Linked DNA regions of Homo sapiens: all the other regions are linked to region 1. The links are contacts of gene promoters, found by promoter capture Hi-C in blood cells and fetal thymus (Javierre and others, 2016). All regions are on one chromosome and are shown on one strand. Each heading gives the region's core, a stretch centred on a gene start or on the middle of the fragment in contact. The rest is flanking DNA. Distances are from core to core; before and after follow the strand shown. Region 1 holds the start of EDN1 (endothelin 1). Region 2 has its middle 48 kb from the start of ADTRP. Region 3 has its middle 25 kb from the start of ADTRP. Region 4 has its middle 16 kb from the start of LINC02530. Region 5 has its middle 36 kb from the start of LINC02530. Region 6 has its middle 31 kb from the start of HIVEP1. Region 7 has its middle 86 kb from the start of HIVEP1.

Region 1 (3,641 bases), core at 734-3,233:
CTTTGGAGAGGGAGGTCAGGGCACCCTTGCCTGGCACAGGCGGCAGCGCTGGCTTCCGGCTCAGTGCCGCCTGTCCTCCGGGAGCTGTGGCCTCCCTGGGCCCCGGGGCTAGGCTGAGGTAAGCGCACAGCGGAGGCCAGGGGCCCCGGCAGAGGCCCTGGGGATAGGGTGGAGGCATCTCTGGGTGTGGGTGTGGGTGTGGGTGTGGGAGGGAGAGTTCTTGCCTCTCTCTCTCCCATCTCCAACTCTTGCTTCAGTGGCTCTTTTAGAGGATGCATGTCATTATGGACCTGTCGCTGCCACTGTCCCTGTTCCCCCAGCTGTGACTTCGAGGGAGGTCTGGGGATCTGAGTCTGTCCAAACCCACGGCTTTGCTGTTGGGATAAAAACTGTCCTTTTGATTTTAGAAGGAGGAGGGAAAAAAGGTTTCCCAGCATGTGTGTTGTGCCAGTCTTGGAAATTCATCCGTGCTTGAATTCCACCCTCCATCCCCAGAAAAACTGGAGTAAAACAAAAAGAGGAGATGGACAAAGTGTGTATTTGATGGCATCCCCTGGGAAGAGACTCTAAATTTATCCCATAGGTCTTACTGGGCCACTGTGAGCGCTTTGGTGGAGAACAAACAAAAATTCTGGGTGCTCAGTTGTCTAACCTGAAAAATGGGACTAGCGGAAAAAGCCAATGTGTTCCATGCACCTTTTGCTTTCTTTATTAAGGCATGATGTCACCTGTACAGTAACTGCCCTGTGTGTACTTCAGGGGGGGATTTCAAGGTTAGATAGACAGGAAATTGTTTTGAAAATGTAAACACATTATTAAATGTGAAGTATTATCTGATTCCTTGTTCGAATGGCATTTCCTTCTCAGCACCACCTTCCTTGCATATTCACTTAACCTTGTACAAGAACACCTTTTTGCCCTAAATGAAGACACCCCCCCAAAAAAAAGAGTCCCAGAAAATATGTCCCTGCTTGTGCGGGGAATAAATAGAATATTCTGAGGTGCATTCCTCCTTCCTATGTTAGGCAACATTCCTTGACCCTCCTCGGCCCCCAAGCCAGGTTGCGTTTTTTTCTGCCATTTAGAAGGGTTTTCCTTTTTGTCCTAGTAAAACATCAGCCCCTGTAGCTCTTCATCTCCCCCTGGTGTTCTTCTCCCGCCATGTCTTAAGATTGGTGGCACCGACCAATCTTAAGATTTAAGTTCTGTGTGAAAAACACCTTTGCTTTTCAATCAGTTTATCAGCCTCCTCCGCAGGGGAAGTGTGGACACACAAAAGAACTTATCGGGGCTTCTCATCAGTGATAGGGAAAAGACTGGGCATGTGCCTAAACGAGCTCTGATGTTATTTTTAAGCTCCCTTTCTTGCCAATCCCTCACGGATCTTTCTCCGATAGATGCAAAGAACTTCAGCAAAAAAGACCCGCAGGAAGGGGCTTGAAGAGAAAAGTACGTTGATCTGCCAAAATAGTCTGACCCCCAGTAGTGGGGCAGTGACGAGGGAGAGCATTCCCTTGTTTGACTGAGACTAGAATCGGAGAGACATAAAAGGAAAATGAAGCGAGCAACAATTAAAAAAAATTCCCCGCACACAACAATACAATCTATTTAAACTGTGGCTCATACTTTTCATACCAATGGTATGACTTTTTTTCTGGAGTCCCCTCTTCTGATTCTTGAACTCCGGGGCTGGCAGCTTGCAAAGGGGAAGCGGACTCCAGCACTGCACGGGCAGGTTTAGCAAAGGTCTCTAATGGGTATTTTCTTTTTCTTAGCCCTGCCCCCGAATTGTCAGACGGCGGGCGTCTGCCTCTGAAGTTAGCAGTGATTTCCTTTCGGGCCTGGCCTTATCTCCGGCTGCACGTTGCCTGTTGGTGACTAATAACACAATAACATTGTCTGGGGCTGGAATAAAGTCGGAGCTGTTTACCCCCACTCTAATAGGGGTTCAATATAAAAAGCCGGCAGAGAGCTGTCCAAGTCAGACGCGCCTCTGCATCTGCGCCAGGCGAACGGGTCCTGCGCCTCCTGCAGTCCCAGCTCTCCACCGCCGCGTGCGCCTGCAGACGCTCCGCTCGCTGCCTTCTCTCCTGGCAGGCGCTGCCTTTTCTCCCCGTTAAAAGGGCACTTGGGCTGAAGGATCGCTTTGAGATCTGAGGAACCCGCAGCGCTTTGAGGGACCTGAAGCTGTTTTTCTTCGTTTTCCTTTGGGTTCAGTTTGAACGGGAGGTTTTTGATCCCTTTTTTTCAGAATGGATTATTTGCTCATGATTTTCTCTCTGCTGTTTGTGGCTTGCCAAGGAGCTCCAGAAACAGGTAGGCACGCTCGTTGACTTGTAAGTCTCGGAATTACAAGTTAGTGTGTTCTTATCCACCTTCATGCTTTTCTTGCTTCTATTTTTCCCCGTTCTTTTTATGACTGCAGCTTAGAGAGCAAGTGTCTGAGAATTATTGCTGAAAGCTACTTTAAGTCTTCTAGTGTAAAATGTAAAATTCCTCTATTGAATACAATTAGGTGCAATTGACTATAACATGACATTAAAATAACTTATCGTTTTATTATTATTATTCCATTATGTGTTTCCTTGGCTTTTAAAAAATGAGAAGAGTATGGACATATACAATTTAGTCAAATGTATGTTTGTAATATATGTGTTTATACAGGTACACAGGCCATATAGGAACTTAAATCTTATTTAAACACTATTTTAATAGTGTGTTAACGTGTAAAATATTTAAGCATTCCAGCTTGAAGCCAAGGAATTGTATCCAGTCGTTCAAGCAATGTATGTTCAGTAAAATCACCTGCAGAGCAAAAGTCTGTTGACTAACTACCGCCTCCCCCCCCCCCCGCCACCACCCCCCGCAGGCGGTTTCTGGGTGAAGCAGATGTTTTCTTTAAAATTTGTCATCATTGACTTTAGGTTTCTTTTGGCAGGTTTTTGGCACCCAAAACAGTGTGAGCTCTCTTTTCAGCTTTATTCACCTGTGCTGGGAGGGGAGCTAGGATAATTCTTGGCTGCCGAAGGATTTAGGCAGTGCGTGTGCATCTGCCCGGGTCCCCCCCGTTTTTAGGGTCAGTGCACTTTTTTTGTCTTTTCGTGACCCTGACTAAAGAGAAAGGATGTCAAGGGAATGAAAATCCTGGAATGTGTCTGATCATTTGAAATGTACAAAATTGGGCAGATAAGCTGCATGGCTAAATTGTTAGGAGGAAGAGGCAAGGCAGTAGTGGAGAAGGGGGAGGCAGTGGATCCCACACAAGCCTGATGCCCAGGGATTCGGAATTCAAAATCCCCCCAGCCTACCTTCAGTCCCCTGACCTGCTTCTCAGCCCCACCTTAGGTCACTGGTTTCTATGGAGTTACCCTCCTGAATTGAATATTGAATAGTTAATTTCTCTCTCCAATCATTTTCCCCACCTAATTTTGAAAGATATACATCATCTGGGGTACCCTGTGCCCTACACAGCATGTGAAGTGGATGGGTACCCCCTAAAGAGAGGGTCATCCTGAATGGGGAAGTGGCCCCAAAGCTAGGAATAACTGTGATTTCTTGTCTTTAGTCATGTGCCAATGTTAAGTAAGCTTCAGTGGATAGTGCTGTCCTACCAAGTTCCTTGTAGAAGCCAGCCGGATTTT
Region 2 (3,761 bases), core at 1,172-3,671, 460 kb before region 1:
AGTTGACTGCAATCTCCATTGCAACTATTCTGTGGCTCTGTCATTGTATGACTAAGGACTCTGATGCTGCTGCCACACACTGCCAATGGGGAATTTTTGTAGTCTGAGCTAAGTTATTTCATTTGCTAGGCTATGGTGAACAGTTTCAAGATATTATAACTCTCTTGATGTTAGATGTAATTATACAGATCCTGAGATGGTGCATTACCATTACCAATTAGAAATGAAAATCCGGGAAGGGTGTGAGGATGGAGGGGGAGTGAGGGATGAGAAATTGCTTAATGGATATAGTATACCTCACTCAAGTGATGGTGACACTAAAAACTCAGACTTCACTACAATATATCCATGGAACAAAGCTACACTTGTACCTCTTAAATTTATACAAATTTTTCAAAAAAAAATGAAAGGGGTAAAATTCAATCATTCATAAAGAATGGGTGTGTTAAGTGGCTACACCGGGAATCAAGTATAGTGCTAGTGAGTGGAGAGGCGGGGAAAATGGAGGATGGGAGGGTCCCAGATACAAGCTCCTCAACCTCATCAATGTCATGATTGTGCCTGGACCAGCCCTGTTCATTACAATCAGAATCCCTCCTGTGCGTCTTGGACATAAGCCTTAGCTAGCTGGCCAACCTCAGAACAGACCCTGCCCATGTTTGTCCCAAGGCAGCCTAACTCCATTTTTTATTTAGATATGCAATTCTGGCCATTCAAGCTTCTTTCACCAGGAACTATTTAATTATATGCATTCCATGTTCGTCCTGAGGTAAATTAGCCTAAGTGATTATTGTATCAAACCCTCCAACTAAATTGTGCTCAAGGACATCTAACCTCTTAAATGTTATATAAATGAACATAACTGGACTTACATAATTTTTAAATAATGCATGATATTTGTACCTATTTGGGGGGGTACATGTGACTTTTTTATATACGTATACAATGTGTAACGATCAAATCACAGTATTTAAGATTTCCATCACCTCAAACATTATCATTTATTTGTGTTGGTAACAATTTCAAATCTTCTCTTCTAGCTATTTTGAAATCTACAATAAATTATTGTTAACTACAGCCACCCTATTATGCTATGGAACACTGAAACTTATTCTTTTATCTAAATATATATATATATATATATATATACATTTTTAATCTATTAACCAAACTCTCTTCATCCCCCTAAAACACACCCTTGCCAGCCTCTGGTAACTATCATTCTAATTTCTACCTCCATGAGATCAACTTCTAGAGCTCCCACATGTGAGTGAGAATATTGGATATTTGTCTTTCTGTGCCGGGTTTATTTCACTTAACATAATGACCTCTGGTTCTACCCATGTTGCTGCAAATGACAGGATTTCATTCTTTTTTTGTGGCTGAATGGTACTCCATTGTGTATATTTACCACATTTTCTTTATCCACTCATCTGTCTGTGGACACTTAGGTTGATTCTGTATCTTGGCTATTGTGAATAGCGCTTTAGTAAATATCCAAATTCTGCCAGGCTCATACCTGTAATCCCAGCACTTTGGGGGCTGAGGCAGGAGGATTGCTTGAGGCCAGGACCAGAGCAACATAGATAATGATAATGCTTGAGATCAGCCAGGGCAACGTAGACAGATTCCATCTCTACAAAAAACAAAAAAAATAGCCAGTTGTAGTGACATGCCTCTGTGGCCCCAGCTACTCAGGAGGCTGACAAGGGAGGATCACTTGAGCCCAGGAGTTCAAGGCTGCAGTGAGCTGTGATCGCACCACTGAACGCCAGCCTGGGCGACACAGTGAGACCCGTCTAACAAAAGAAAGAAAGAAACAAGGTGTAGGTATCCCTTTGATGTACTGATTTCCTTTCCTTTCGATAAATACCCAGTGGTGGGATTGCAGGATCCTGTGGTAGTTCTGTAGCACCCCCGGGTGGATATGGGGTATGTCAGTGGTACTCCAGGCATGTGGGGTGCGGGGGTGGTTAGGCCCCAAGGCAGGGTGTAATCTGGCGGGGGATGGGCTCCCCAAATGCCACTGCACTGCCACTGCTTGGGTCCCAGGGGTGTGTAGGACCCAGTGTGAACCCATCTTTGGAACAATGCCTACTGCAGATGGCTGTCTGTACTAGTCTCAGAGCCCCCAAAGGCCAAGGGGCTCTTCTGCGCCTAGGAATGTAGGAGTCCGCTGTGCTTGTGTGGACCACTGGGGCCTCTCACTTACCTTCTCCCCCAGCCAATCCTGGCTGCCTGGCTGCTTTGCTGCCCTCTCCTTCCCTGCCCCCAGGGTCCCTTGTCACTTTCCTGCTGAATTCTAGTGTGGTCTCCGACAGGCTCTATTCAACGTGCGTTTTTCTACTCGCGGTTTTGGTTCTTTGTGGAGGAGGCCAGTGCTGGGCGCCTCTTGTCGGGCATCTTGAAGCCTCGTCCGCGCTGATGTATTTATATTCTTTCCATGGCTCTAACTCAAAATAGTTCCAGGAGATATTGGTTGATTTCTTGGATTTTTTGTTTCTTTCTTTTTGTCTAACAAGTTTAATTTTACTTAAGAACAAAACGGGCCAGGATCCGTGGCTCATGCCTGTCATCCCAGCTTTTTGGGAGGCCAAGGCAGGAAGATCACTTGAGTCTAGGAATTCAAGACCAGTCCGGGCAACACAGCAAGACCCCATCTCTATAAAAAAATAAAAAGTAAAAGAAGGTAAAACAAAAACCAAAAAAAAAAACTCCACAAAACTTAGAAATCTCCCTCTCCTTAGGTGACAGAGTTCCCTTGTGTTAGCTTCACCCAGTATGTGTGAGGGAACCTCGCCCCACCTTATCTAAAGCCTTAGGATAGGGACAAATGGGATTTCCAGATATGTGCCCAAATCAGTGCAAAGGGAAAACCTCTAACCAGTAAGAATGATGGGGATACAGATACCTTATGTGACTTTTCTTTGAAGAAAAAGGTAAAAGGAACAGTTTCACCTATTTCAAGTGCAGTTAAATGTGATCCAGGAAAATGAAGGTGATTCCTGTGCTAGAATGATTTGTCCCTCCCATCTCTGTCCCTTTTCCCACAAATACCTATGTATGTTTTCTGTATATGGGGCTACCACTGAATTTAAAAGGCACTTAGAGAAGTGAAGACTTCCACAAAAGAGGAAATGAAAGAGGGATAAAAATGAACTTCTGATTTCAGCTGAACTCACCCAGATGGCAAAGAGAAAAAAAAAAGGTGACAATTTTGACCTCAGAAAGCAGTATAATAGTAAGAAAAGTCAACTTGAGCTCAACTCCAATTTCCTATTTGACGGCTAAATAAATGTTAAATGACTTTGTAAATATTTTTAAATGAGTGGTTTTGGAGTGGGAGTGGTGAAGAAAAAAGGGAAAAGAGGTTAACTACCACACATAAAACAACCAGTTCATGCAGCCTATGGCCAATTTTTACAGCTGGATTCTTATAAACTGCTTGAAGAATTGGGCGAGAGACGGGTTTATGATGTTACCATGGCAGTCCTGCAGTTTTTTGACAAAATATTGTGACACTAAAGCAGATGTACTGTGGGAGGTAGACATAGTGGTTGCGACAAGTATGAAGGAATTTAAGACCCTCACTAAATATTTCAGCGAAGAATGTCTCACCGAACTGCCACAGGATTTAATTAGCTGTGGAGTAAGAGGTGAAGGGTTAATCCAAGGTCAATGTGGAGGACAAGGAAGCCCCTGACACATGCAGCTATTTGATATTTGCTGAATGCCACATTGCAGTCAATTGGAATAGTAAA
Region 3 (3,407 bases), core at 535-3,034, 490 kb before region 1:
GAGCCCAAAATTCACCACCGAAGATGGATTCCTTCAGACTAAGCCTCATTTTCTATTAAAACACAGATATCTTCTAAGATTGGTCATGTATGACCATATATTAGCACCATATTGTAATTAACTTTTTTACCTTTCAAATCGATCTCCACTATCAAAGTCCTGAATACTTTTGACTATGCACCCTTATCAGTAAAAAATTTCGAGCTGTGTCCCCTATATTTATATATTTATTGGTAATTACTGACAATCCATACATTAATAAGGCATATTTATTTGAAGAAGAATCCCACTGTTACTTTTTATTTTGCTTCATTTTGCTGTTCTCATGGTTCATTTGACTTAGGTCAGCATCCACATTAAAGTATATATGTATGTCAATACTACTGGTTACCCAAACCAGAACGGCTCTGCAAGTAATGATGGCTTGGATGTCTTTGAGTCACTGAGGAGAGTTAAAAACCATTCCACTTTCAGCAGTCTAGCATTTGTTACTCGGATTTTTCTTTCACCTATTCTGTTGCTTCCCATTTAATCACATTTTTGAGCATTTCTTTTTCTTGTCATTGGGCTGTTGGAGGATGGTGGTAGAGACTACAGCCCAGTTGCTGAGATAAATATGAGCCTGAAGTCAAGGCCTTGGGTCCAGTTCCTTTACAAATCAATTTATTTGCAATCTTCTGGAAGTGGTTACCAAACATTATTGTGCAGAAGAATTACTTAGAGAACTTGTTAAAAAAAAAAACAGGATTCTTAGCCAGGTGCGGTGGCTCACACCTATAATCCCAGCACTTTGGAGACCGAGGCAGGAGGATCACTTGAGGATGGGAGTTTAAGACCAGCCTGAGCAATATAGTGAGATCCCATCTTTGCAAAAAAAAAAAAAAAAAATTAATTTTTAAAATTAGCCGAGCATGGTGGTACATACCTGGAGTCCCAGCTACTCAGAAGGCTGAGGTAAGATCACTTGAGCCCAGGAGCTTGAAACTGCAGTGAGCTGAGATAACACCACAGCACTCCAGCCTGGGTGAAAGAGCAAGACTCTGTCTCAACAATAACAACAACAAGAAAAAACACAAAATGAGATTTCTGATCCCTCCCCAAGAGATTCTGATTTAATAGGTCTGCGGAGGGGACAATAATCACCATTTGTAATAAGACCCCTCCCCCACAGCACCACCCACACAGGCCGTCTGGGGTCAGGCTGTGCTTATACCCCAGGAAATATTGGAGGCATGAGAATGGTGGTTGCCAAAGCAACCTTGGCATTGGGTGAAATAGTCCAGACTTTATTACATGGTGACCATGCTCAAAAGCTTGACCTTTGTCACAGAATTGGTAGGGATAGGGCAATGGAAGGAGGGTGTGTGGGTGCGGGAGTGGGTGTGTGCAAACATGAGGCCGGGTTTCTACCAAAGGTGCTAAACAGAATTGGTTTTCCTTTTGTCTCTCTCAAAGTGGAAGTTTGTTTTGAATGCACATATTTTAATAAATTAAATGACACTTTATAAATTACACCTTTTCAATCTTACACCTCCAAAGAATTATTTCTAAATTCGTGTCTTGTTAACAAATGTGCCATTTGTGCCCCCTCAAAAAAGAATGTTTTAAAATGGACATCTTGGTTCCTGGTTCACAATGAGATTTAGGTCAAGTGTGAATTATGATCACAAGGTAAACATATTACTGTGGCACCGAAAGAATGTAGGGATCACAAGACAGACTTCCAGGTGTACATTTTGCTACTTGCTACAGATGAGTTACTTAATTTGGGTTGTGGGGAGGAGTTGGATAATTTATTTACTAAAAAGCTCTTAAGACCCCAAATCTGTAAGCCTATTCCTCAGATCCTAAACATACCCAGATCTGTCTGTATCCCAGTGTGAACACACAATACACCTTCTCCTAAAAGTGAGACCCCAGATCTACTGATAGATAAAGTGAATGACAGTTATTGCTGAAGTAGAAATAAAATCATATTTCAAATACAGTTTCTTCATAAAGTCCTATGGCAATTTTTACCCTTTCTGCATTTTTCTTTGAGGCCTAACCTTGAGAAATCAATAAGCATAATTGGTTAGAAAATTGAATTTCTTTCTCTTTGCTTACAGGAATTAATTTGGCAAGCCATAGTTAATTTAGTGAGCATGTTTGCACTAACCATATTTTATATGTCTAACACATGGTATACAATTGTGCTCTGTGATCATTGTGAAATGATGCCTGCGGCCTGTGTTACGAAAGTTCAGAGCTGCAGCAAAGCTTTAGGGAGACTCACACGATGTGAGCGGGGGGCAGTTCTAGCTTCCTGATTCCGTGAAGGGCATACCCTCAAGTGTAAATCTATTATTTGCTGCCGGTTGAAATCTTGTTAGTCCTCAGGGAACAGTTTTCTGGAGATCATTCTAAATCAAATCCATGGGATTTCTAGCCCAGGATCCCTGAGATTTGTCAGTTTGGTTCAATAGGAAGACCTAACAGCTAGGACATTCCAAAAAATCATGATATAGATGGTTTACTTTCAGTGCCTTGACCTACTGTCATGGACCGCTCTGCCACTTCGCCCTGCTGTCTCCTTCCTTCTGGGGCTTCCATGTACCCCCAGGAAAACTCATTTTCCCCTTTCTTGTGTCTTGGGATGGTTTTCAGTGTTTGTCAGTGTGAAAGGAAAATAAATCTCAGGAGCCCACAATGAGTAAGCCAAAGGGAAGTCAAGCTGGGACCTTCCTCCCACTTCGTCCTAAATAAGATAGCTACAATGAGATAACTGCTTCATGATTCGCTAACAAGAAAATTCCTTGTGGACAAAGGACAGACGGACCTCAAAGTCATCCCTCTGCCCAAGTGAGACAAATGCATATCTGATGGCTTCCTTTGCCCTGTTGTTTCCAAACTAAGGCATAGTGATTATTCCTCTCTTCTCCTCTCACAGGTAAATTGTGTATTCAGTGAAAGGCTAATCAGAGACTCAAAAGAATGCAACCATTTGTCTTTTAGCTACCTATGCCCTGGAAGCCCCCTCCCCTGCTTCAACTTGTCCCGCCCTTCCGGACCAAACCGATGTACACCTTACACATATTGATTGATGTTTCATGTCTCCCCAAAATGTATAAAACCAGGCGTGGGTGCCCTGACTACCTTGGGAACATGTCAGGACCTCCTGAGGCTGTGTCAAGGGTGCATCCTTAAACTTGGCAAAATAAACTTTCTGAACGGATTGAGATCTGTCTCAGATACGTTTGGGTTCACACTAGGTGCCTGTGGGCTGATTTCATCCCTGGCAAGTGAAGAGGAGCTGTGGCGAGGGTAGCAGAGGGTTGTCAGGCTTTGCTGAGTGGCAGGGGGAGCAGCCAATAGTGTGGGGATATGGGGGCGGGGGAGGTGTCCTCTCCCCTCCTCCATGACTCCCT
Region 4 (3,392 bases), core at 213-2,712, 280 kb after region 1:
AGGCATATATTACCAAGCAGGGAATACCATCTGAGGCAAAAACAAATACCAGCAGGAAAAAAGGAAAGCCTGACCCACTCTCCCTCACACGTCTCACCTCAAAGATGTTAGTAGTTGGAAGCTGTTTCAATAATGATAGTCAAACTTGATGACAATGCTCTCAAAAACCATCCATGCAATCCTGTTATTTTACATCTCCTTGGTCAGGCAGCCGATGAAGAAAGGAAGGTCATTGCCATGGGGAAGGATGTGACTGAATGTCGTCCTGCAGACCTAATACTTTCCTCATTTACACGTGGCTCAGATCAGCTTTCTAAGGTTTTTGTGCTCTAAATTGTCAAGGGACCTGCTGTTAAATATAAAATAGTGATCTCTGACACTGGTGTGCACATATCAACATTTAAAGAAAGGATGCTTTTTAAACATGAATGAAATAGCAAATAATGTGCTAAAAACTGGAAACTGACATATCAAGACGAACTAGAAATACACTCCCCTATAGAAGAAGACATTGAGGAAATTTGCCTGTCTTGAATTTGGCATTGGATAAACGGGAGAAAACATCTTCCTGAAGAATTTATAATTGCATTCCGGCACGTATGTGGGTTTGGTACCCAATTTTGCACTTCCACTTTGGTACAAAGAAAACTGAATTCAATCCAAGGCCTTGGGAAATAAGTCTTGACCCCTCTAGGTCCTTCTTCTCTTCAATGATCAAAGCCTAAATCTTATAATAAATTATCTAATTATTCATCTTCACATTGCACTTTCTTATAGATTGTAAATACCTCCGGAAATCAATAACACATGAAGATATTATTAGCCAGGTATCTACTGTGACTCCATTTATAACTATTAATATAGCTAAAGCAGTGAATTCTTCTGAGTCTCAGAATTCATCAGTTCCCAAAGACTGAACCATGTTAAGGAATGGAAGGTAATTGGAACTGACATTTTGAATCAGGTGTCTATTAAAATGATTTCTTATTTAATTTAATAAAATTCCTAACGTGCAGGTTATAATTATTGTTACCATTGCCAACTGAAGCATAGCAATGAAGTAACTCACCTAAAGTCAGAATAAGTAAATCCAAACTACATTTCTAGTCCACTATATACATTGCCTCGCTAAGCTTCTTTCTACACATTCTATTGTTATGGCAGAATTTAAAAATCAGAACTTGTTTGCTGCCCTATAGTTAATAATATGTCCTCTATTATATATTATAATACATATTGTAGTAACTACACTTTACTGTATTTAATCTTCTCCCCAGTGAAAGGAAATTTGATGTAATAATTTATCCTCATTTATAGATTAATGTCTCAACGTGAATAAAACATCTGAAAGAGTCCAGGCGCGGTGGTGTATGCCTGTAATCCCAGCACTTTGGGAGGCCGAGGCAGGCAGATCACCTGAGGTCAGGAGTTCAAGACCAGCGTGGCCAACGTGGTGAAACCCTGTCTCTACTAAAACTACAAACATTAGCTGGGTATGGTGTGCCTGTAATCCCAGCTACTCAGGAGGCTGAGGCAGAAGAATTGCTTGAACTCAGGAGACGGAGGTTGCAGTAAGCAGAGATCCCGCCATTGCACTCCAGCCTGGGTGACAAAAGCGAAACTCTGTCTGAAAAAAAAAAAAAAAAAAAAAAGCATCTGAAAGTAATTGTGACTGGCTCTTGAAGGAAAAGAGAGCAATTGCTCATCATTCCTGTATATCTTAGAGGGTCTACTGGGTTCTGCGGCCTCTGCATGTATCAGTGAGCAAGGCAGGTGAGAAAATTGCTCTTAAGAAGCTTACATTTTAATGGGGAAAGACATTAACTAAACAAATAAAAAGATTAATAATAGCATTTAAGAAAATGGTAATGGCTACAAAGAAATAGAATGTGAGTACTCAAAAGAATGATTCAACATCAAAAACATGTCATTACATGAGACACTGAAAAAAATCAATGCTTAGGAGACAGAGCTGAAATCTTTACATTAGAAAGTTTTTAAAGCTAAAATTTAAATAGCAACCAAATTAGGAAGTTAAAAAAGAACAGCAAGGAAGAAAGGAGAAGAATGAAATGATAAAGCTGAATTTGAAATTACTAAAATAGAAGGCAAAAATGAATTAGAGAAATTATCAGAGCCATTATTATTCTGTATAAATGCTAATAAAATTGACAGCATCATGGCAGAATGGATCAAGACAAAAAGACACATTTTTAAAAAACTATGTTATCAAAATTGACTCCAGAAAACTTTTAATAGAAAACTAGCCTTTTATGACAGTAAATCATTAATTTAAAATCATAAAAAGAAAGAAAAAACCCTAGGCACATCAGTGTAGCTAATGTAAATCAGTCTAATTTACAAAGAAAAGGATTTGGTGTAGGGTATTCATCTTTATAAAATCTCTGCTAGGGTTGAAGAGCAGACTCAAGGCCAGCAGTTGGCAAACATTTTCTGTAAAGGAAAAAAATCATAAATTTTTCAGGCTTTATGGGTCACATACAACCTCTGTCACATATTATTCTGCTTTTGTTTGTTTTTATTTTTGTTTTTGATTTTTAACAACCCCTTAAAAATATAAAAACCATTTTTAATTCAAGGGTTATATAAAACATGCCATGAATCAGTGCTGCAAGCTGCAGTTTGCCAAGTCCTGCTCTAGGCTGAACATTCTGGAAGGATTCCCAGAAATTAATTAAAGGAGCTTTCAAAGGAGTAAGTACACCAGGAAAGAGGAAGATGTGGGATCCAGGTAACAGGCAATCTAACACATGAGAGAAATGAAAGAAATTCCCTAGTGGAAGAGAAGAAATGCTTGCTCCAAGAGGATATTGTGTAGCAGGCCTGGAGGGCAATCAACTCGTGTGAGAGCAGGAGGAGGAAGGTTCTGGAATATTGACTTCAGGAAAAAGATGAAACTGATAGGTTTAACTGATGTATTTAACTACATGAAAGGGAGTTTTACTGATTATTGGTGAGTTAAAGGATGAATTTGTGTTAGCTGCATAGAAAACCAAGCAAACTAAAAATCAGAGCAATAATTGACTACAGGAAAAATGATCAGCTATACAAAAAGGGAAACGAAATCATAGTATCCTACATGATTCAATTATTAATAATTAGGGTAGGAATGAAGAAGCATGTAAGAATGTTAAGCACTCATTTTCTGAGCAAAATGTCAATAAATAATTAACAACTTTAAAATTGAGAAATGCTGGGCGCGGAGGCTTATGCCTGTAATTCCAGCATTTTGGGAGGCCAAGGTGGGAGAATCACTTAAGGCCAGGAGTTAGAGACTAGGCTGGGCAACATAGTGAGAACTATCTCTACAAAAAATTAAACAAAATTAGCCTAGGGTGGTGGCATGTGCCTGTAATCCCAGCTACTCGAGT
Region 5 (3,723 bases), core at 615-3,114, 330 kb after region 1:
GTTTTTCTTTCCCTAAATAACATTAACTAGGGAGAGAGTTGACATTTCTCAAATAAATCTAAATGGACTGGATTTTGATTGCTAAAGGAAAACCTTTAATGTTGATCACATTAATTGGATTTCAGAATTTTTTAAAGCCTTTTATTACTCTATTCATTTTATGATTTTTTATGTCATTTGCATTGATTTTTACCTCCTAACATGTAAAAAAAAATGCCAGATATTCACTGTTATTTCTAGTTTTTTCTTCAGTAGGTACAACAGACTACTTAAGTTCTGTGTGTGTGTGTTCACAAATACAAAAGATAAATTGCAAAGGACATTTAAAAATTTTTAACATTTTCTCATGAAAGCATAAGAACTTTCTTGAATAGAGTACCCTTTTAGAAATAGTACTACATCTTTAACTGTTTTCATAAAGTATTCCTTTTCTTCTTGGTAATTAGTAAAAGCTTTTCCTTAGATTATAAAAAGGTAGGTTTGCAACTCCAATTTCTCTTTGCATTTCTTAGAAAGTATAAAAGAGTCTACCTAATAAGCCTATGTTCTCTTTTTATGAATAGACATTGATGTAAGGATGGAGAATACACTTTTTCCTTCTTTCTGGTGCAACCTTTAATTATTCCTAAAGTCAACTGAGGGTTATTTTTATTTGTTATTGGATCTTCAGGTTTTTTTTTTTAAACTGGATGTATGTCCATTTCCTTGACCTAATTGACATATTGCTTTTGGATTTAGGCTTAAATTTTAACTAGAACTAACTCTGAGTCACTATATTACACCAAATTCTCAGAATGCACAGGTTGCAGGCTGACCTTCAAGTGAGGGCCCCAACTCCCTTATGTACAAGAAGGCAGAGGTAAAGCCCCTTGCTCAAGGTCACATGTTCGGTTAGTACCAGAACTGAGAGGATACCCTGTGCCCTGGTCTTCCTACAGACTCCTATTCAATGCTCTTTCCACTACGTTGAAGATTCTCCCACCATTTCTTCTGATAAGTAAATGTATATGAGGAGTATATATTTTTTATATTTAAAAATAGGCTCCTCTAGTTCTAGGTGAGAAAGTAAAGATGAATCCACAACAAACTTCTACACAAATGTTTATAGCAGCACTATTCATAAAAGCCAAAAAGTGGAAACAGCCCAAATGTTCATCCACTGATGGATGGATAAACAGCATGTGCTATGCATATACAATGGAATATTATTCAGCAGGAAAAAGGAACGAAGTACTGATACATGCTACCACATGGATGAATGTTGAAAACATTGTGCTAAGTGAAAGAAGCCAGGCACACAAGTCCATAGATTGTATGATTTCATTTATATGAGATGTCCAGAATAGGTAACTCTAAGAGGCAGAAAGTAGATTCATAGATGCCTTTGGCTGGGGGAAATGGGCAGGGTGGAGGGAGGAGGTGCTGGGGAAGTGAAAACTAAAGGGTGTGTGATTTCCTTTTGGGCTGAGGAAAATGTTTTATAACTGATCGTGGCAATAGATTCACATGCTATAAATATACTAAAAGCCATTGAATTGTACACCGTGTGTGAACTTAATGGCATACTACCTATATCTCAATAAAACTGTTAAAATATGCCTTTGTTGGTGTTCATTGTAAAGAAAATTTAGAGTTACATCATCAATTACTATGATGAGATGAAATAACTACCAGTAGTCTAGATAAATGGCCAAAAAAATAGCAAGGTGGCTCAGAAGTGGAATAAACTGAATCTATTTTTCTTTATTTCCTGCTCTTTACCTTATTTACTAGATCATTGTTGTAGACTCTGCTAGGAAATAATCTGAATGTCAGTTTAACACTGTGATAGGCTCACTCCATCTGCAAACATTATGGACCACCTACTTGATGATGAAAATTGCACTGGCCACTAGAGATAGAATGACATACCAAAATGTAAAATTCACTCAGGGAGTTAATTGCAAAAATTTCCAGTTTTTTAGAAGACAATTGTATTAGTCCGTTTTCAAACTGCTATAAAGAAATATCTGACACTGGGTAATTTATAAAGGAAAGAAGTTTAATTGACTCACAGTTCCAGATGGCTTTGGAAGCCTCAGGAAACTTACAATCATGGCAGAAGTCAAAGGGGTTCCATGTGTTCTCATTGTTCAATTCCCACCTATAAGTGAGAACATGCGGTGTTTGGTTTTTGTCCTTGTGATAGTTTGCTGAGAATGATGGACACAGGAAGGGGAACATCACACACTGGGGCCTGTTGTCGGGGGGAGTGGGGAGGGATAGCATTAGGAGATATACCTAATGTTAAATGACGAGTTACTGGGTGCAGCACACCAACATGGCACATGTATACATATGTAACTAACCTGCACGTTGTGCACATGTACCCTAAAACTTAAAGTATAATAATAAAAAAAAAGAAGTCAAAGGGGGAAGCAATCAACTTCTTCACAAGGCAGCAAGAGAGAGAAGAGAAAAGGAGGAACTTCCGAACACTTATGAAACCATCAGATCTCATGAGAACTCACTCACTATCAGGAGAAAAGCATGGGGGAAAACACCCCATGACCCAATCACCTGCTTCCCTCGACACGTAGGGACTGCAGGTCCCTCCTTTGACACATGGGGATTATAAGAGATGAGATTTGGCTGGGGACACTGAGCCAAACAATATCAAAAATGAAGGAGATAACATTTGTTGAACACATTCTATGTCCCAGACACTGCGCCAGGTATTGTGCATAGATTTTAAGTTGTAACAATAGTCAATTGAAAAACCTTTTATCACACTGCAGTTAATATTAGTTGGCTACAAGAAAATTGAAATCATTAAATGGTTCAGTTAACTTTCATGTATTTCATATATAAACTCAGTCACTTCTTTTTCATTACTGTAATTCAAGAACCTCCTCCACTAACAATGATCAAAATATAGTAGATGTGATAAACATTTGTTGAACTCTCAAAGGCAATTAATGATTTAGCAATATAATTGCCTTGTGACTGTGTAGTTCATTAAAATCCAAAGTGCCACCAAATAGTTGTCTTATTGATTCTTTTAATCTCCAGCTCAAGAAAGCAGAAAAAGAAAGCGATTTGCAAAGGCAGCATATAGAGAGTACTGAGTGTCGTTTGTGAGCCTGATTAAGCCCAGTGCAAGGTTCTGGGCTATCATGGATATTGTGGTCTGATGATTTTTCCACTGATTTGCAAGACTAACCACTGCTTTCTGCTTTATTTCACCTGGCTTCCAAGACTCCCTCAGGCACAGGAGTTGCTTTATTCTTTTGTACTCAAGCTTGAAAAGTGAGTTTCTCTTTATTACATATGCTTTTGGTATACAGCATCTGAAGGCAGAAGCTTAGCTAGGGACAACATTTGCCCCTGGTGCAGTCAGGTGGATGATACCAACCCTTCTAAGTGTGACCTTTCTTCTGAGAACAAAGTGCTTTCCAAATATTATCTGACTGAGCTCAGAACCCCAGCAGAGAGGCTTGGAGAAAGAGACTAGTATTAAATTATTTCACACCTGGGAGAATCAAATAAAAAGAAACTTTCCAACGGAAATGTGAGAAAATTTTAACCTCTTAATTACTAGAGGCAAACTGTCCAAGAAATAATTTGAGGATGAATTTGCCTCCTGCATATGGACAATGGCTAACACAGCCCACAGTGCTTGGGTGTATTCTGCTTAAATGGTAGCCATCCAATACACCCAGATTCAGGCATTGCAAACAGCCC
Region 6 (3,522 bases), core at 795-3,294, 310 kb before region 1:
GGCCAAGGTAGGAGGATTGCTTGAGGCTGGGAGTTCAAGACCAGCCTGGGCAAAGCAGGGAGAATCTGTCTCTACGAAAAATTTAAAAAATTAGCCAAGCATGGCGGCATCTGCCTGCAGTTCCAGCTACTTGGGAGGCTGAGGAAAGAGGATCATCTGAGCCCAGGAGGTTGAGGCTGTGGCAAGCTGTGATTGCGCCACTGCGCTCCAACCTGGGCGAAAAAAAAAAAAAAGAAGAAGAAAGAAAGAGAAAGAAATATTTAATCTATCTGGAATTTATTTTAGATTATGGTATAGGGTGGAAAATTTGTCCTACTTTTTCAAAGCAGGCCAACTGTTCCAGCACCATTGTTAAGTAATATATTTTCTCATTGTTAATAAAAGTCACTTTAGCATAAATTCTTAAGTATGCTTGAAATCCTCCTAGGATTTTTGTTTTGTTTCATTGTTCTATCTATTCCAGTACCATTGTTTTAATTGGTTATATTTTGATAATATATTTTGAAAACCATTAGTGCAAATGTCTTCTCATTCTTAGTTTTCAAAAATTTAATTATTGCAGTATGTTTATTTTTCTAGTTGAAATTTGAAATCACTGTTACATGTTTTTTAAAAAAAAACTCATTAAAATTCTGACAACTTATAATTAATTTAGCAGAACTGACATCTTAACAATACTAAGTCTTATCTGCAGCGTCGTTTTTTTGTAGTTGTCTATGTCCCTCGGAAAATGTTAATACTGTCTAATGGATTTTAGGCATTCCTAATTAAGTATATGTCTAGGCAGTTGATATTAGTTGTTAGAAAACTGTTTTAAAATTAACGTCTGTATGATTTGTAAATGGCCATTTTACTGAACTTGCCTATTTAAAGAAATCAGCTGCAAACATTGATACTTCTTTATTTGTGTATTTTGAAACTTATTTAGCTTTTCCCATGATATTGGCCAAGATTCACAAAATAGTGTAACTGTTTACACCAAGTATTTATGATTTCCAATGGAATACCTCTGAGAGAGAAACAGAGAGGTCCATTTTGATATGTATGTATTTATCGATGTATATATGAAATGTTGAAGGAATATTCTTTCTAGTTTCCTTAAATACTCTGTCAAACATGGTTGTTAAACTAAATTAGGTGCTTTTGGAAGATATCTATTGATACTGTCTTTTTAAAAATCATTTGTATCTATTACATTAATAGATTTCTTTATACTTCTTGATTCCAAGAATAAACTCTAGTACGGGGATAATTTATTGCTCTTTTAATACGTCTGGGTTGGTGATTTTATTTAGGATTTTTTAATTCTCTATAATCATAAGTGAAATTTAGCTATAGTTTTCTTTCATTGTGATAATTTTATCAGGTTTTGGTATGAGGTTAAAATAAACTGGGAAGATTTCCATCTTTATTCTCTGGGACATTTTAAATTGCAAAAGAAATCTATAATTTCAGAGTCTAAAATAACATCCATAAAATCATCTGGTTTTGGCAAATTTGAAGGGATAATTATCATCTTTTTCAATTTTATTCATGGTGGATCTTCTACATTTTGAGCCAATTTTGGTTATTTATATATTCCAGGCAGACAATCTATTTCATCAAGATATTCTCACTCAGTTGCATAAAGTTTTATGGAGAAGTAGCTCCCAATGTTTTGTTCTTGCCTCCTATCAGTTAAAAATGCTTGAGTAGGCACCCCAATTTACTTATTTAATAATTGCATGTATTTACTACTAGACTAGTGGATTACATAAAGTATAAAACACTCTTGTAAATAGAAGAATTTTAAAGATAAGATAAAGATGAAATAAACTATTTAAAAATAATTTATATTTAGTTCAATCATGAAATAAAAAACTTGTTGCTTCTCTAAAATAGTCTTAATATTAATATTTTAGTAAGAATTATGTCATTAAATAGGTTTTATTTTTTTTAAATCTTGGTTTAATAATTTGTGACATAGTGATCAAAGATATTTTTCTAAATTCAATTTATTTTGGTATTCGTTTTAAAAAGTTACCCTAGCTCTAAAGATACCTCACAAATACACATAGGTCCAAATTGGAAAAAGTAAGTGCATCATTGTCAGTCTTACTAAGTCATCATGTGCATTCTTTTCAGTCCCATTTACTAATCATGTAGATAATGGTTGAAATATTAAAAAATATTTGCTTTTCCTGATGTCAGTCAGAAGCTGTTGAATTTTTAAATTTTTAACAAATGAGTTTAAATACCACTGGGACTGTACACAGGTTACAAAGCAGGTTATATATTTTGTGGTCCTGTTTTTAGAGTAGGCAGATTTAAGAAATTTTGTAAGTGACAAACATCGTTTTCAGCAACAAAAATCACATAATGATGGGAACATTTCCAATTATTCTCAAAATGCTGTCTCCATTGCAGAAGTTTGTTTAAAAAGCCAATTATTTTCTATTCCCTTGTAAAAGCATATCACTTTTACCTTTGAGTGGCAGTTTGTGCTAATATTTTTTCAGTGTTGGCTGGGTTGATACAACTGACAGCCATTTACCTTCACAGAAATGATCAGTTAATTTGGGACACTTGTCTGTCTATAAAGGACATATACATAACTCACCAATAGCTTAAATCAGTAAACAAATTAAAATAGCTTAAAATTTTTCTTCAAATTTAAATCCCAGACATCCTGCAAGAGGAAATGAAATTCTATGTATTCTTCATTGATTTTTTTAGATGGCCATCTCATAACTGTTATCAAAAAATTACAAGTTTGCAAAGATGTAATTTGTGGAATATGGTAACCACAGACATTAAAAAAATAAAACTTAAATCCCATCATACTCAGTGACATTCCAATACCATAGCAATTTGACACCCACACTGTCCATTCTTAAAAATATATGTATCAGATTTTATCTAACAATGGGAAATTGTACTTTATCCCTTTTTCTTCCCGGACTTTTATTCCTATTCCACTTCAAGCCCCCATTCCCAAGAATGTATTTAGTATATATTTATTTTTGAAACTCTGTTAATCATCAATATTTTCTATGATAAAAATATGCATATAAATTGAAAGATTAATTTTTTAATTACCTGTGAACACAAGGCTCTAAGTGTTAATTGCCTTTCAGAGAGAGCTATCATTGCGACTGTTAGTAGTACATAATTAGTCAAAACAACGTAACTACATTATAGATTTTCACAGATAATCATCAAACAACAATTTTTAAATTATCAAAAAGAAAGCTCTTAATGAGATTAATGGGGTCAGGTTATTTTCATTTGCCCCTAGATAAATATTGTTCATGATTTGAGTGAGACGGGGCTCACATCAATTCTGTTCATATATTTTATGTTTCTAGATGTACGCCCTGAGAAACCTTGTTCATATAAATAGACAGAAATGGAAATTCTGTTGCTGCTCAATGTGTTTACCCACTTCTGGGTTATTTGCTGAGAAGTTACCAACTGATGAAATTAGTTCTAATAATCTATCTTTTGACAATTCTAATTCATTCTTCAATTGTGACAAAAGAA
Region 7 (3,559 bases), core at 727-3,226, 360 kb before region 1:
CTAGAGAAATTCTAGCCTACATGCACAAGGAGACAGAATGCTCATTACAGTTATTTTTGCTATTTTTAAATAGTAAAAAATGAAATGAATACTGAAATTAGATATATAAAGACATTTAGTGTATTCATATCATGGAATGTTATAGAGCAGTTAATACGAATAAACTACATGGATTACTATAGAGAAATATCAGAAATCTAATACCGAAGATGAAAAGTAGGTTACAGAGGCTCAGCTGAGTGTGATAGCATTTATATAAAATTTAAAGCGACAAAAACAGTATTGAGGGGGCACACAAGGACTTGCAGTTAAAGTGTTACAAATGTACAATGGGCCGGGTGCGGTGGCTCACGCCTGTAATCCCAGCACTGTGAAAGGCCGAGGCAGGCAGATCACAAAGTCAAGAGATTGAGACCATCCTGGCCAACATGGTAAAGCCCTGTCTCTACTAAAAATACAAAAATTAGCTGGGCGTGGCGGCGCACGCCTGTAGTCCCAGCTACTCGGGAACCTGAGGCAGGAGAATCACTTGAACCCAGGAGGCAGAGGTTGCAGTGAGCCGAGATCGTGCCACTGAACTCCAGCCTGGTGACCTGGCGACGGAGACTCTGTCTAAAAAAATAAAAATAAAAAAATACAAAGGAAATAAAAATATAAAATTAAAGGATGGTGGTTATTCCTGGGGAGGAGAGGGGGGACATGGAATCAGGTATATAGGGTATGTTGCCTGTGTCTCTAATATATAATTTCTTTTTTATAAAATAATACCTCAAAGGCAGTGGTCAGAGGGAAAAAAACTGAGATGTTCTCCTTACCATGAATGAATGTATGAATAATGAATGAATTAAAAAATAAATACAGATGAAAGCAGATGCTATTGATAAGAGACATGTAACTTCATTTCATATGCTTGATACAACACAGATAAAGATGAAGACTGCTAACCTTGCTAAAAATGATGATTCTTTATTCACTAGATTTAACCTGATGGACTGCTTTCAGTTGTGATGGAGACAACGAAAAAGAATGACAGGCTTGGAAGTATATCATCAAGCATTATATCTAAAAGGAAAGTAATATTATTAAGGATTTTTTAAGAATTTAATTTTTTGGCATGATATTTCTCTATTAATATAGAAGCCTGTGGTTTGATTTTATCATGTCTGATTTTCAGGCATGTTTTCAGGTAACCTTTACGTCAGGAAGATGCTACCTGCCAGCTCCCAAGAGTTATTTTATCACACATCTTAATAAATACAACAGAATGATGATCACACTCCCCTCCCCCGCCCCCAGCGCTATTTCTCCTCCTTTTTCCCTGCCTTGTCCTCTCACACTGCAGGTGCTCACCCAGGCATGCAAACTAGAATCTCCAGGCTGGGGCCCTACCCACCCTTCACCTGCCCCTGGGCTGCCAACCACAGTCTTCTTGCTGATATTTGCCCCGTGTAACGTCCACTGCTTCCACTGCTGCCTCCTTCAGGCACCAGCAGCACTGAATTGCTGACAGTAAAAGCCCCACTAGGCTGCCCACTAAGCCGTCATCCCGTGGCGCTGCACCCACTGCTTCTCCCCAGCTCCTCTGCATAGGTCTGCCCTTCACTCCCACGCAGAACACGTGGCTCACGAGATGTTCTGATGTGTTGACCCTCTTGTGCCTCTTGCTCTGTCACACTGTACTGTGTCATCTGTCCCTCCTCTCTACTGGACCTGCACTCCCTGAGGACAGGAACAACGTCCAAGGGCATCTTTGTCTCATGTATAATGCATTGCATGAAATCCAACTGGGCGCTGTGGTTCACGCTTGTAATTGCAGCACTTTGGGAGGCCAAGGCGGGCAGATCACTTGAGGTCAGGAGTTCAAGACCAGCCTGGCCAACATGGTGAAACCCCCATCTCTACTAAAAATACAAAACTTAGCCAGGTGTGGTGGTGCATGCCTGTAATCCCAGCTACTCGGGAGGCTGAGGCAGGAGAATTGCTTGAACCCAGGAGGCTGAGGTTGCAGTGAGCAGAGATAGTGCCAGTGTACTCTAGCCTGGGCAACAGAATGAGACTCTGTCAAAAAAAGAAAGAAAGAAAAGGAAGGAAGGAAGAGAAGAGAAGAGAAAAAAGAGCAAGAGAAAGACAGAGAAAGAGAGAGAGGGAGGCTGAGGCAGGAGAATTGCTTGAACCCAGGAGGCTGAGGTTGCAGTGAGCTGAGATAGTGCCACTGCACTCCAGCCTGGGCAACAGAATGAGACTGTCAAAAAAAGAAGAAAGAAAGAGAGAAAGAGAGGGAGAGAGAAAGAGGAAGGAAGAGAGAAACAGAGAGAAAGAGAGAGAAAGAAAAAGAAGGAAGGAAGGGGAAAAAAGAAAGGAAAGAACGAAAAAGAGAAAAAAAGAAAGAAAGAGAAAGGAAGGAAGGAAGGAAAGAAGGGAAGGAAAAAAAAGAGAAAGAAAAAGAAAGAAAGAAGAAAGAAAGAAAGAGAAATGCATAGTGGGTGCTCAATAAACTGAACTGGGAAGTGACTGATAATCCAGACTCAGTGCAAACTACTGAATTTTTTTAAAATGTTGTGCTACTGGCAAAATCCTTTAGTGATCAGATGCCCAGCCTGGTTCTAACTACATCCTCATTTTCTGTTGTCATTTTGACTCCCCATCATCTTCTGAAATCCCCTCTTTTTTCTCTCTCTTATCTACTGTCTACATTCATTTGAACTGAAATACTCATTTCCATGTATCTGGGCTGATAAAATAATTGCAGAGATTTTTCATGCAATTAACTCACAGAGTAGACTCTAAGTACGCTGTTGGATTTTCTATAGCACCACATACTGCTAAGTCTAATTTGCAACCATACAAATCCATGACATGTTGGAATTTAAGGAGGTTCATTAGCCTACAATATTTACTCTGCAAAAATGTTTGCTGGAATTGAAAAAGTAACCTCCCTCACTTCACAGAAATCACTGACTCCCTTTCTGTTGCTTCAGGGCAACCGCCAGATAAACTCCCCAACTTGCAATGTAAAAATCTGGAATGGTGGTTGCTTAGTCTTTTCTACACATTTACAAGGGGCTACAATGAGGCAGAGAGTAAATCACACATAGATGGAAGCTGTATGTCCCACACTGGAGCTTATATCGGTCACCATCTTCTTGCTGGGTCTTTCCCAAGAAATCTCTTTGGAAATGGGAAGTTATGTCTGGAATTCAGGTGGCAGAAGGCCACCTGTGTGCCTACTGTTTGGAAGTCAAGGATGGAGGAGGGTGCAGGAAAGCATATTGCATTGGCACCACCAAAATGATGCACTCTAACCTGAGGCCACACACACCACACACACACATGCTTCTACAGGATGTATGCCAATCCACTAGCCGCGTCGCCCACGCTCATTCGCAGGTCCTGAAAGCTAGCCCACCGTGAGGCCAGGAGGAGGTGTTTTAGAAGAGAATAAAAAACTAGGATCAGGCACTGATACGGGATGAAAAAGACGAACAGAGACTAATGATGAAATAGAATAAGGGCAGAGGAGAAGTGTGTTGAGTGTGTGGGCAGAAGCACTAGGAAGGGC

What was found. The method cuts DNA at HindIII sites, captures the fragments that hold promoters and counts their contacts. A CHiCAGO score of 5 or more calls a contact.
Region 2: a fragment that was not itself captured here is called in contact with the fragment with the promoter of EDN1 in region 1 in 1 of 17 cell types (total CD8 T cells); the score reaches 5.1 in total CD8 T cells.
Region 3: a fragment that was not itself captured here is called in contact with the fragment with the promoter of EDN1 in region 1 in 1 of 17 cell types (M2 macrophages); the score reaches 5.2 in M2 macrophages.
Region 4: a contact is called between a fragment that was not itself captured here and the fragment with the promoter of EDN1 in region 1, in 1 of 17 cell types (endothelial precursors). The highest score is 5.9, in endothelial precursors.
Region 5: a contact is called between a fragment that was not itself captured here and the fragment with the promoter of EDN1 in region 1, in 4 of 17 cell types (M1 macrophages, M0 macrophages, M2 macrophages and 1 more). The highest score is 8.3, in M1 macrophages.
Region 6: a contact is called between a fragment that was not itself captured here and the fragment with the promoter of EDN1 in region 1, in 1 of 17 cell types (neutrophils). The highest score is 5.1, in neutrophils.
Region 7: a fragment that was not itself captured here is called in contact with the fragment with the promoter of EDN1 in region 1 in 1 of 17 cell types (neutrophils); the score reaches 5.2 in neutrophils.

Annotation. Positions count from the first base shown.
Region 1 is chr6:12,288,378-12,292,018 of GRCh38, forward strand. EDN1 (endothelin 1) reads left to right here and starts at 1,984. Exons shown (of 5, transcript NM_001955.5): 1 at 1,984-2,316. The coding sequence starts at 2,253. RefSeq lists enhancers at 1-92, 93-593, 1,737-1,836, 1,847-1,916. The HindIII fragment of the contact is 4,555 bases long and covers 1-3,585 here.
Region 2 is chr6:11,825,201-11,828,961 of GRCh38, forward strand. No RefSeq gene overlaps it. Among named protein-coding and RNA genes, the nearest start is that of ADTRP, 48 kb to the left of the region's middle. The HindIII fragment of the contact is 3,411 bases long and covers 717-3,761 here.
Region 3 is chr6:11,802,090-11,805,496 of GRCh38, forward strand. No RefSeq gene overlaps it. Among named protein-coding and RNA genes, the nearest start is that of ADTRP, 25 kb to the left of the region's middle. The HindIII fragment of the contact is 946 bases long and covers 1,312-2,257 here.
Region 4 is chr6:12,567,947-12,571,338 of GRCh38, forward strand. No RefSeq gene overlaps it. Among named protein-coding and RNA genes, the nearest start is that of LINC02530, 16 kb to the right of the region's middle. The HindIII fragment of the contact is 663 bases long and covers 1,132-1,794 here.
Region 5 is chr6:12,619,433-12,623,155 of GRCh38, forward strand. No RefSeq gene overlaps it. Among named protein-coding and RNA genes, the nearest start is that of LINC02530, 36 kb to the left of the region's middle. The HindIII fragment of the contact is 2,828 bases long and covers 451-3,278 here.
Region 6 is chr6:11,979,895-11,983,416 of GRCh38, forward strand. No RefSeq gene overlaps it. Among named protein-coding and RNA genes, the nearest start is that of HIVEP1, 31 kb to the right of the region's middle. The HindIII fragment of the contact is 4,383 bases long and covers 1-3,522 here.
Region 7 is chr6:11,924,447-11,928,005 of GRCh38, forward strand. No RefSeq gene overlaps it. Among named protein-coding and RNA genes, the nearest start is that of HIVEP1, 86 kb to the right of the region's middle. The HindIII fragment of the contact is 9,888 bases long and covers 1-3,559 here.